Regions from separate parts of the Homo sapiens genome. Here all the other regions are linked to region 4. The links are contacts of gene promoters, found by promoter capture Hi-C in blood cells and fetal thymus (Javierre and others, 2016). All regions are on one chromosome and are shown on one strand. The core of a region is centred on a gene start or on the middle of the fragment in contact, and the rest is flanking DNA. Distances in the headings are between cores, read along the strand shown.

Region 1 (2,700 bases), core at 119-2,618, 800 kb before region 4:
AAAGTGGCAGGTTAGATCAGTTCAGTTCAGTTGTATTTTTCTTCCCCCGTTGTTGTTCTCTAGAGGGTTGAGAGAATTTGGGGGCAGGAGGCAGTGATGACCAGGAGAGAGGGCTGGGCAAGGTGGCTCACACCTGTAATCCCAGAACTTTGGAAGGCCGAGGCGGGTGGATCACCTGAGGCCAGGAGTTCGAGATTAGCCTGGCCAACATGGCAAAACCCCGTCTCTACTAAAAATACAAAAAATAGCCGGGTGTGATGGTGCGTGCCTGTAGTCCCAGCTACTCCGGACGCTGAGGCAGGAGAATCACTTGAACCTGAGAGGTGAAGGTTGTAGTGAACCGACATTGCACCACTGCAATCTAGTTGCCTGGGTGACAAAGCGAGACCCCATCTCAAAATAAATAAAACAAACAAACAAACAAACAAAAAACGCCAACCAACCTGGAACTTGCTCATCCTTGAAGGAAAGATGAACTTCATGCCTCTATGACTTTGCTGGAATCTCCATTCTTACCTCTCTAGTGAACTATTTATAGTCTCAAGATTAGCTGGAGTTTCACCTGTAGTTTCTCTGTAACTTACTCAATCTCTTTTACCGCTAAGAACGAATTGCTGTTCCTTGTGTTTCCATAGCACATTTAAACCTTTCTATTATAGCACTTAAATTGTACTATAATTATTTGACTTTTTTTGCCTACCGCAGTTTCTGTCACAAGGTAAATATTTAATGGTCGAATTCTACAAAAGACTACATTGCTTCTTTGAGGGAGTTTGGTCAGTAAATTATCCACACACACATAATCAATAACTAAATTGATTCTGCCTAGAATGGACAAAACGGGGGAGGCTGGACATTTAAGACGATTTTTGAGAACTGTATCTTAGAGAGGGGATGATGGTAAGAATGTGATCTTAATAGGACAGACTGAGTTCCTCCTAGGTCGGTTTTTTTCATCTTTACGTAAAATGGACATTTACCTGCTCAACTATAGTTATCCACGTATGCAACAAATACCGAGTGTACGTTCTTTTGGTACAGGAGTTACTGCCCTAAGTGAAAGTGCTCTGTAAATGGAAATTACTTTAGAATGATCACTATTAGTATTATATTGAAATCCAGGGTATTCTATCTGACAGACTTGAAGGGTTTAAGGAGGACCGAGGCTCCCAGTGACTCCGGATTGGTGTCCTGACACAGGTAACGCGGAAGGAGGAGAGGGCGAGCGAGCGAGTGCGAGTGCGCGCGCGCCGGCGGGAGTGCGTGCGGCAGGCGGTAGGCCCCGCAGGGCTGCTGAGGGGCACGCGGGAAGCCAGGAAGCAGGGACGGCCGGAACGCAGGACGAGGTGACGACAACGCCGGACGTAGTGACGTAGCGCGCAGCCGCAGCGGGGGGCGGACTCTGGGCTTTTCTTCCCCTTCTGATTTTCCCCTCCCCCCTTTTCTCCCTTTCCGGGTTTGGTTCCCCCCTTTTCTTCCCCTCTCCCCCCTCCTTCCCAAGCCCCTTTCCCCTCCCCCGTCCCAGTCCCCCCTGCTTCCCAGCCCTCGGCCCCGGGGAAGCCCCGGCCGAGAAAAGCCCGCCCCCAGAAGCGCGCCGCCGCCGGCCGTCGGGGCCGAGCCGCAGCCGAGCGGCCGTGGGCCCGGGCGGCGGGCGGAGACGTGGGCGCCCTCCCCGCCAAGGCCCGTGCGAGGTGAGGCCACCTCCCGGCCGAGGGGGCGGGCGGCCCGGACGGCCTGTGGGGAGGGGGCGTGGCGGCCGCACGGGCGGGCGCGAGGAGGCCCCGCGGCCTGGGTTCCTCGCGCCCGGCAGCCGGTCCCGGGGACGATGGGTCAGGGTCGGATGGCCGCGGGAAGGACTGCTCCAAGTGTGCGCTGCTGGAGAGAAGCTGGGGGCGCGGGGCGGAGGGCGGCGGTGCGGGGGCAGGGGGGTGGCGCCACCTGTGGCCTTTGCGGGGTGACCTAAAAACTATTGCGCCCTTCCAGTGCTTCGGGGTGGCTAGCTCCGTGTGTTTCTTGGGTGGCGGTTTTCCTTCGAGCGTGGAGCATGGAAAAATAGGACGGAGAGGTGTAGAAGTGTTTAAAATCATGCTGGTGTCCAGGTTTCTTACAGGGACGGGGATTTGAGTTGGCACATACAGGGAGATGTTTCTATAGCTTAAAACTTGGGCCTACACTAAGCTCATAACTACTCGAGCCCCTGAAAACGCTTCGATTCGTTTTCCCGTAGAGCTAACATTTTTCAACATTTGTGGCCATTAAGTCTCGGAACTACCAGGAATACTGACTTAGAGTGAATTGTCATTGGATAATGATGAGAAATGACCGAATAACAATCCCAGAACTGCGTTAAAACGGAAGAAAGAAAAGTGGAAAAGTTTGAATTCAGATCCCAGTTGGATGAATATCCTTGTACATAATGTTGTTCAAATAGATAACTAAGATTGAGAAGCCTGAGTCCTGTCTGATATGCGTAAGCCACGTGGAGACTCAAGGAAGGAGGAAAGTGACAGGTTTCACTTCAGGAATATCACAAATTCCTAGCATTTTCTTGTATTTTTAGATAGATTTGCAGTTGAATTATTTGTGGCTCTTCTTCCTAATGCTTTTTTTTGTTGTTGTTCCACCAATATTCCCCCCCCACCCCCGCCCCCCTTTTTGTTGCTGGGGTATCAAGACAAAAGGTTGTATTTTGTTTTTTGA
Region 2 (2,700 bases), core at 191-2,690, 820 kb after region 4:
CTCTTGATCTTTATTGTGATGAGTTAAAAAAAATTGAGCAATCATCTCCACTTTGTTTATATATACTGTACTTATAGAAATTGTATACTTCTGGACTGTTATAAAATATAACACAGAAAAGGAATTTTTGAATGAGATAAAAAGGAACTATATATAGAAGAGCTAATATTTTCTTCCTATTTGTCCTATTTTTGAAATCCCTGGAGTAAGTCACCAGCTGCCCGATGACTTACTTGCATTTATAGATTGTGTTGGTTTATGGAGTTCCTCCTTCCATCAAATCTGTATTTGTCAGGTCTATATAAAATTTGTATTTGATTGGATAAGTAACTTTTACGTAAAGTCCTCTGACCTGATTTCAGTGTTACAGTCTAAGAGAACATTAGGCACTCCTGACAGCCTAAAAAGGACTTGCTCTTTAATCACATTTGCTTGTCTTTGCTTTTTCTCTAGAGCACTTCTTAACCTTTTGGAGGTCACAGATATCTTTGAAACTCTGATGAAAGGTATGGACCCTCTCCCCAGAAAAAGGCATGTACACATATTTTGCATGCAGTTTGAGGGGCTTCATAAAACTACCTTGTAGCCCCGAGGAGTCCATGGACCTCTGGTTAAGAACTCATGCCTTTAGCTGGGCGTGGTGGCTCACGTCTGTAATCCTAGCACTTTGGGAGGCCTAGGCGGGCGGATTGCTTGAGGCCAGGAGTTCGAGACCAGCCTGGGCAACATGGCGAAACCCCGCCTCTACCAAAAATGCAAAAATTAGCCAGGTGTGGTGGCAAGTGCCTGTAGTCCCAGCTATTGAGGAGGCTGTGAGGAGGCTGAGGCACAAGAATCGCTTGAGCCCGGGTTGGAGGTTGCAGTGAGCCGAGATGGTGTACTGCACTCCAGCCTGGGGGACAGTGAGACTCCGTCTCAAAAAGAAAAAAAGAACTCATGCCTTTGATTCTGATTTTTAGGACAATTAATGTTTGGTTCCACTGGTGATCTTGATGCAATGATCCTGACTTCTGGGTTGACTTGGGGTTTTATTGCCTTAAAAAAAAATCTTGGCTGGGTGCAGTGACCCACACCTGTAATCCCAACTCTTTGGGAGGCGGAGGCCAGGAGTTTGAGACCAGCTTAGGTAACATAGTGAGACCCTGTCTCTACAAAAAAAATTAAAAAATTAGCTGGGCATGGTGGCACACACCTGTAGTCCCAGCTCCTCAGGAGGCTGAAGTGGGAGGATTGCTTGAGCCTGGGAGGCCAAGGCTGTGGTCAGCTGTGTGATAATTGCTCCACTGCACTTCAGCCTGGGTGACAAAGGGAGACCTTGTCTCAAAAAAAAGAAAATAAAAAAATCTCTCCATTGTCATAAAGAGAATTTTGGGCTTTGGTATGGAACCTCAGGGGAAGGGAATACCTTTTGAAGCAGGAAGGAAACATAGTATGTATCTGAGTTGATATGTAATGTCATATCAACAGCAAATTTCTGAGGATTTTGTAGAAATGCAGTCATTCTTTTTTTTTTTTTTTTAAATTGAGATGGAGTCTCGCTCTGTCGCCCAGGTTGGAGTGCAGTGGCAAGATCTCGGCTCGCTGCAACCTCCGCCTTCCAGGTTCAAGCAATTCCCGTGCCTCAGCTTCCCGAGTAGCTGGGATTACAGGCACGTGCCACCATGCCTGGCTAATTTTTGTATTTTTAGTAGAGATGGGGTTTCACCATGTTATTGGTCCGGCTGGACTTGACTGACCTCAGGTGATCCTCTTGCCTTGGCCTCCCAAAGTGCTGGGATTATAGGCATGAGCCACCACTCCTGGCCCATACTAACACATTTGGAAAGAGAGATTGAACTGTGGATGAAAATGGCTTGAACTGTAACAGTATCAGATATCCAGTCAAACATTAGAAAAGGAACTATTGCAGAGGAGAGGAGAAAGTGATAGTAGTGTCAGAGTGTTGAGAATAGTGAGACATTTGTATTGAAAAGTGAAGTGAGGAAATATATTGGTAGTTGAAGATAGTTTGGAAAGGAAAATAGGTAAACTATAAAGGTAAATCAGAGTGATATTGAAAAGGGCTTTCTAAGTTATGTAAGGACTTCTGGCCTTTGTCATGTAAGAAGTAGGGCTGGGAGCCTTTGGAAGTTTGAAAGGAGGAGCTTGATGTGATCAGCTTGTATTCTCTTGGCGGATGGGATTTGTAGGGGGAGCGATTTCACCACTTAGATATTTATTATAGGAGTCATTCCCCTGCTTAAAACCTTTAAATTATATCCCTGCCCGTCTCTCCAGCATAGTTACTAACTCTTCAACTACTGTGGCCTTATTTTATTTAATTTCTTCAGAATGCTTCATCAATTGCCAACACTTAGCATTTGTTATGTGGCAAAGCACTGTTTGAAGCCATTTACATACACTAACTGATTTAATTCTCATAATAACCCTGTAAGGTAAATACCTGTATTATCCTCATTTGAAAATAAGAAAAACCATAGCTCAGAGAGAGTAACTGAGTAACTTGCCTTAGGTTGCACAGCTAAAATGTTGTATATTAAATCCAAGCAGGCTGGGTGCAGTGGCTCACGCTTGTAATCCCAGTACTTTGGGAGGCCGAGGCAGGCGGATCACCTGAGGTCGAGAGTTCGAGACCAGCCTGACCAACATGGAGAAACCCCGTCACTATTAAAAATACAAAATTAGCTGGGCGTGATGGCA
Region 3 (2,700 bases), core at 84-2,583, 520 kb before region 4:
AGAGGAAGGGAAAAGTGAAGTTGGCCAGCTGGACCTGGGACCCATTTCGCAACCTTGCTGCCTGCAGCCTAGGGGCCCTTTGCTGAGCTCCCCAGCCACCTCCTTCTTCCCCATGCAGCATGGTGCAGGGAGGGGAACCCTGAGACCTCTGAGAGCCCCTTCAGACCATCCTTTCACACACAGTCCAAACTCCTGAGTGACTTCAGCAAACCCGATTTCCTTCAAGGCCTCTATTTACAACCTCAGAACCTCCCCTCACCATACACACCCATGTTCCCAGGACCCCAATCTTGCAGTCTGCCTCATTCTTTCTACAGTGGTGGCATCCTCCAAGGTGAAGGGAATACAGATCAGAGGAGCTCAGCTTAGGAAATGCAGGGCTGGGCTGGGGTCGGTAGACTGCACCACCAGGCCTGCCCAGGGGCAGCCTGGCAGGAGGCTGGACAAAGCTGGGTTACAGGCTCCATAGGCCTCTGGAGCTGAGAGACTGGTCAGAGGTGGGGGTGAGAGTGCGCAGGCCTGGTTCCTGACTAAGGGACTATCAGGCCTGTTGATCCCTCTGGGCCTCAATTTTCAGAACTTTAGTCTTTTGTGTATCACTTTCAAAATGTCTACCATGCTTATGTACAGCTTGCGCTACTGTTTATTACCAGTTATTTCAATTAACTTACTTTTCTTATTTCGCTGCATGCTAAACAATTGCTGAAGTAACAGATTTGATGTGCTAGTTACAGGAGTTTCCTAATGCATATCAAATAAAAACGTAACTATAACAGTTAAAAAAAAAAAAAAAAAGCTTGTCCAGGTACCATCTAAAATCAAATCAATGCATAGCCCCTTTGAGAAAGCAGTAGTGAAAGCCAGGGCTGCTCTTGGTACTGGCCAAGGGTCTTGCCTTCTCTTCCGGCTCTCACCATGGAGTTCTCTGGTCTTGGAATTCGAGCCTCATAGACCTCCCCAAACCACTGGGCCAGCGGCAGAGGGGAGGGGGAGGTAATCTCAGGTGGGAGGAAAAGAGATGACCCACCCAATCCAGGGGGATAACACTGGGCCTGAGGCAGGAGGGTCAGCAGCCCTGGGGCATTGAAGAGGAATGTTCACACACTGCAGGGCCTCAGGGGGGCCCTCGGGGGCTCTCAGGACTCCACAACAGGTCTGACTCACATGGCCCAGGACACATGTGAACCAGGCTCATTTCCTGGCCTCCTTCCTTCTTTCTATTCTATTTCTGCTTCCAGAGTTTTCTCTGGGGCAGGCTCCCCCTTCTGCCTGCACCAGCGGGCTGGCCTCGCTGGCTCGAACACCCCTCAATTGTCAGACTCCTCCCTCTGTGTGCACCCCTGCTGCATGAGGCTCAGCCCCAGGGGTCCAACAGAGGTCACAGTCACAGCACAGAATGGAAGGCTTGCAGGGAGGGCTGCCCTGGAGGGCAGAGTGAAAGCAGGGGAAAGCTGCAGCCTTTCTTCTTCGTCCTCCTTGGGGAGCTAATTACAGGCCAGCAGCCACTGTGCAGGTGAGTGCCTGGGACCAGCCACCCTACACACCAGGGCAGGCCAGTCAGCATCTCCTGGGGAGGGGGATGACCCAGAAACTGGGGGAGGGGCTAGGGGAGAGACACTGACGTCCTCAGTTTGGGACCCATAATTAGTTTGTGGGAGAGAGCAAAACAACCATCCTCAGGGTGACAGCCAGACATTCAGGCGGCAGGGACGTGGAGCAGGGGGAGGGCAGGGAGGAAGGGACAGAAGCTGGGATGAGAGAAACCCACTCATTTACCCCACAAGCATTTCCCCTTGGACTCTTCTAGCCTCCTGGACTCTGCCCCTGAGAGGCCCAGTGAGTTTAGCAGACTGGGAGGCAAGGCAAATCTGTTTGCCAAGGGAGGGGTACCAGCTTCTCCTGGGGAGGAAGTCAGATAAGGAGATGAGGCCAGAGTAGAAGTTGAGAAGGTTACCTCCAGGACACCCCATAGCCACCTACCCAGAAGCCCACTGTATGGCAAGATGCAGGGCTGGGGAGGAAACTGACAAGCTGTCTGCCCAGACAGGCCTGTTGAGTAGGTCAGTGGACAAGGAACAGGGGGAGGGCAGCTGCACAAGAGGGTCTAGCACCAATCCCACCCCATCAGCCATGGGGTTCCCTGAGTCGCCCACTCGTTAAGAGCTCAGCCAACCAGGCTTGACAGCCCCCAGCTCAGCACCCCAAGGAGGACACATGTCTGATCACAGGTGAGCTGTGGACAGCAGCAGCCCAAGGACGCTATCAGGGATGCTCTGGAGGAGCCAAAGGCAGAAATGTGAACCTTACGCTGAGGCCACGGAGAGTGAGGGCTCTCAGAGGAACCCCTGCTCGCCACCATCCCGGGGAGGGGCCTTTCTCTCTCCCAGAATGAATCCCTTGTAACCTCCTGGGATCTTTCTTTTCATCACAAGAACCAAATAAAGAAACTTGAAGATCTTCTAGAGAGGCCCAAGGTTCACAATCCTCAACTTCAAAGTGTGCTGTCCTTTACCACTGGCTTTCACTCCAGTTAATCTGATCTAGACAGACAAGCTCAAACCCATTATGCAGATTAGGAAACCAAGGCAGAGATGGGAATTCTGGTTTACTAAACAGTTACAGATCAAGTTAATCTCCCTTAGGGGGTCAGATCAACCACAGGCCAGATTCTTCCTCTCAGCCCTGTGGTGCATTTCTTTG
Region 4 (2,700 bases), core at 54-2,553:
AATTATCTTCAAGGCTGCAAAGTGTTGAGTTGCAAGGAAAGGAAACCTGGTTTCCTTTCTTGTCATATTTTATCCACTGTTTGACATTGAAGAAGTCATTGAACCTCTTTGGGTCTTAATTTCTTCATTTGATGAAGGAGAGAAGGTTGAACTAGAATTTTTTTTTTTTTTTTTTTTTGAGATAGAGTCTCCCTCTGTCACCCAGGCTGGAGTGCAATGGCGCGATCTCAGTTCACTGCAACCTCCACCTCCCAGGTTCAAGCGATTCTCTTGCCTCGGCCTCCTGAGTAGCTGAGATTACAGGGGCACGCCACCACACCCAGCTAATTTTTGTATTTTTAGTAGAGACCGGGTTTCATCATGTTGGTCAGGCTGGTCTTGAACTCCTGACATCATGATCCACCTGCCTCGGCCTCCCAAAGTGCTGGGATTACAGCCGTGAGCCACCGCGTCCGGCCTGAACTAGAAATTCTCTAAGCTCTAACATCATATGACACTGTTCTTCATCCTGGTGCCCTGCAGTGGACATTTTAGGTGACAGCCAAACTCTAGTCCTCTGCTAGATTTTACTTTTCTGAGTTTTCACACAGTTATGTAGCCCTGTCAGAAAAAAATTCCCAGAACCATAGAATGGGTGGACATTTGTGGCATCTTTTTGCTGATTAGTTTTCAGCTTATCCTTTACTTCTCTGACTGCATTTAGGCTACACTCAGGTCTTTGCTGTCTGGTTCCAGAGCCGAACCTTCTTTCCCCCACGCACAGGAATCTTTCCTTTCCGGTGACCAGGGCCCTGCAGATGTCGCCAGGAAAGTGGTGATCCAGGCAGGACCAGGCTGCACTGAAGGGACAGAGGTGAGTGGGTGGCTGACTCTTGCCTCTCCCCATCCCTTTACTGAATCGCGACCTGAGTGACTAACCTTTCTATTTCCACGTTTCCATTACCCTACCTGGGAAATAACTGCCCCCGAAATTCCCCTGACTCTTACCCCTACCAGCCTGTTAGAGAAGTGGCACCTGCCTTTGGGCCTAGACGTTTGGTCTAGTCTTTTAAGTTAACCTTGGGACTGTGGCATGCCTTTCAGTTTGCCCTGTGTGAAGCAGGACCACTGCCTCCATGAGATGCGGGTGCAGAGGGAGCTGCCAGGTGGGCAAGGTGGCCAGAGTTGCAGGAGGCACAGCGGCGCTAGGACCCAGGTCCGGGTCGGAAAGATGGGCTGGCGGGCTTTAGGACCCTGTGGCGGAGGCCGCGTGGGGAGACTCTCTCCCGGCCGAGGCTTCTCCGCCCCCTCCGGCTCCGACTCACTCCTCCCCCGCCGGCCATGTTGGCTCCTCTCGGGCCCCGCGGTTGAGCCGCGTCCCCCTCCCCCTTCCCGAACCCCGGACCCCAGACCCCCTCCCCAGCGGGCGTCTCCACCCGTTCTGGCGCCCGGAGCGCGGCCATGTGAACCGCTTGTACCCCGGGGAGAGACGAGCCCCGAGCCCGGCTGGACGCCGCTGCCTCAGGTTTGTGGGGTCTGTGGCCAGGGGCCTGAGGGGGAGGGAGCCCCGCTTTCATCCGAGGCTTCCCTCGGGGAACAGAAGCTCCAGAGCCGGCTTGAGCCTTGCCGGGGCGGGAAGCCGACGGGAGCTTATTTCCTGCGAGGATCCAACCCGAGGCGAGGGTCTCCTTGCTCTGGGGTCTGGGAGGAGAACAGGGCTGGTGGGGCTGCTGAGGACCCCGGACGGGGCCGCGGGGGCAGGAGGAGCTGTAGGGGCTCCCGGCGACAGTGAGGAGGCGGAGAAGCCGCCTGGCTGGTGGAGATGACTCCTGTGGGGGACTTGGGGTGGAATCCCCGGGAGGGGCTCCACCTCCTCGGGTGGGGGTGGGGATTGCCTGAGCGCGAGGGGTGGGTGAGGGGGTTCCCTTGGCGGGTTAAAACGCTCCGTTTGCGGGGAGCTGGGCGTTTTGACTGTGGTGAGTGGAGGGCGGAAGGGGTTTCCAGGGGTCTGAGGGTGTCTCCCTCGGGGAGCGCACCCATTCTCTTGAGCGTGAAGATCAGGAGAGGGCCTTCCTTGCTGAGGGTGGTGCTGCGCTTGGCTTGGGGCCCTCGCGTCCCGGGAGAATCGCGCACTCCGGGGATGGAGGTTGATAGGGCTTCCGCTGAGGCTTTCCAATTTGAGCTGGGCTGAGGGGCAGAAGGGAAGAATAAAGAGGAATTCCTTTTTCCAAGGAGATTCCTCACTGAGGGGATCCCCGCTTCCGTGGCAGAAAGATGATACCGCATCATCCCTTTCTTTCCCGGTGTTCCCAGTTTTCAGGAGAAGGCAATGTCAATAGCAGTTGTCCTTTGTAGGGTTAATTGGAGTGAGAGATTTGTCTGCTTTGGGGGACGACGGAGGGGATAGCTTTCCACCTCTATCTGTACACAAACAGCCCCTCCCCCAGCCTCCCGCAGGAAGTGGCCGGGAAATGGCAGCTGTGCGTTTGCTGCTGCGTGTCTTGTTGTTTTGAAATGTCCATTTTAATCAGATTTGGTTTCATTTTCTGAAGCCTTCTGGGCAAGCTTGGATCTTGCCAACCATGTGGCCCGAGAGACCTTTCGTTGGACTTTTTTTTTTTTTGTAAACTTGTCAACTGGAAGTAGTCAACTTCAGTTGACTCACGTATCCCAATCCCTTCTCCAGAACATCTCTGTCTTCCTGTCTGGTTTCGTTTTGTT

The links. The method cuts DNA at HindIII sites, captures the fragments that hold promoters and counts their contacts. A CHiCAGO score of 5 or more calls a contact.
Region 1: a contact is called between the fragment with the promoter of R3HDM2 here and the fragment with the promoter of BAZ2A in region 4, in 12 of 17 cell types (total CD4 T cells, activated CD4 T cells, non-activated CD4 T cells and 9 more). The highest score is 11.2, in total CD4 T cells.
Region 2: a contact is called between a fragment that was not itself captured here and the fragment with the promoter of BAZ2A in region 4, in 1 of 17 cell types (total CD8 T cells). The highest score is 5.3, in total CD8 T cells.
Region 3: the fragment with the promoter of LRP1-AS here is called in contact with the fragment with the promoter of BAZ2A in region 4 in 2 of 17 cell types (M1 macrophages and M0 macrophages); the score reaches 6.6 in M1 macrophages.

The regions. Positions count from the first base shown.
Region 1 is chr12:57,429,711-57,432,410 of GRCh38, reverse strand. It overlaps R3HDM2 (R3H domain containing 2), which reads left to right and starts at 1,368. Exons shown (of 24, transcript NM_001394031.1): 1 at 1,368-1,691. It overlaps R3HDM2-DT (R3HDM2 divergent transcript), which reads right to left and starts at 1,295. Exons shown (of 2, transcript NR_185976.1): 1 at 981-1,295. RefSeq lists a silencer at 1,467-1,936 and an enhancer at 2,117-2,226. The HindIII fragment of the contact is 10,065 bases long and covers 1-2,700 here.
Region 2 is chr12:55,813,693-55,816,392 of GRCh38, reverse strand. All of the region lies in intron 1 of SARNP (SAP domain containing ribonucleoprotein), which reads left to right. Among named protein-coding and RNA genes, the nearest start is that of SARNP, 2.7 kb to the left of the region's middle. The HindIII fragment of the contact is 3,247 bases long and covers 1-2,700 here.
Region 3 is chr12:57,146,252-57,148,951 of GRCh38, reverse strand. It overlaps LRP1-AS (LRP1 antisense RNA), which reads left to right and starts at 1,333. Exons shown (of 2, transcript NR_131938.2): 1 at 1,333-1,513. The region is part of intron 6 of LRP1 (LDL receptor related protein 1); the gene reads right to left. RefSeq lists an enhancer at 1,791-2,700. The HindIII fragment of the contact is 5,560 bases long and covers 799-2,700 here.
Region 4 is chr12:56,628,929-56,631,628 of GRCh38, reverse strand. It overlaps BAZ2A (bromodomain adjacent to zinc finger domain 2A), which reads left to right and starts at 1,303. Exons shown (of 29, transcript NM_001300905.2): 1 at 1,303-1,504. RefSeq lists enhancers at 997-1,066, 1,097-1,146 and a silencer at 1,367-1,716. The HindIII fragment of the contact is 7,835 bases long and covers 1-2,546 here.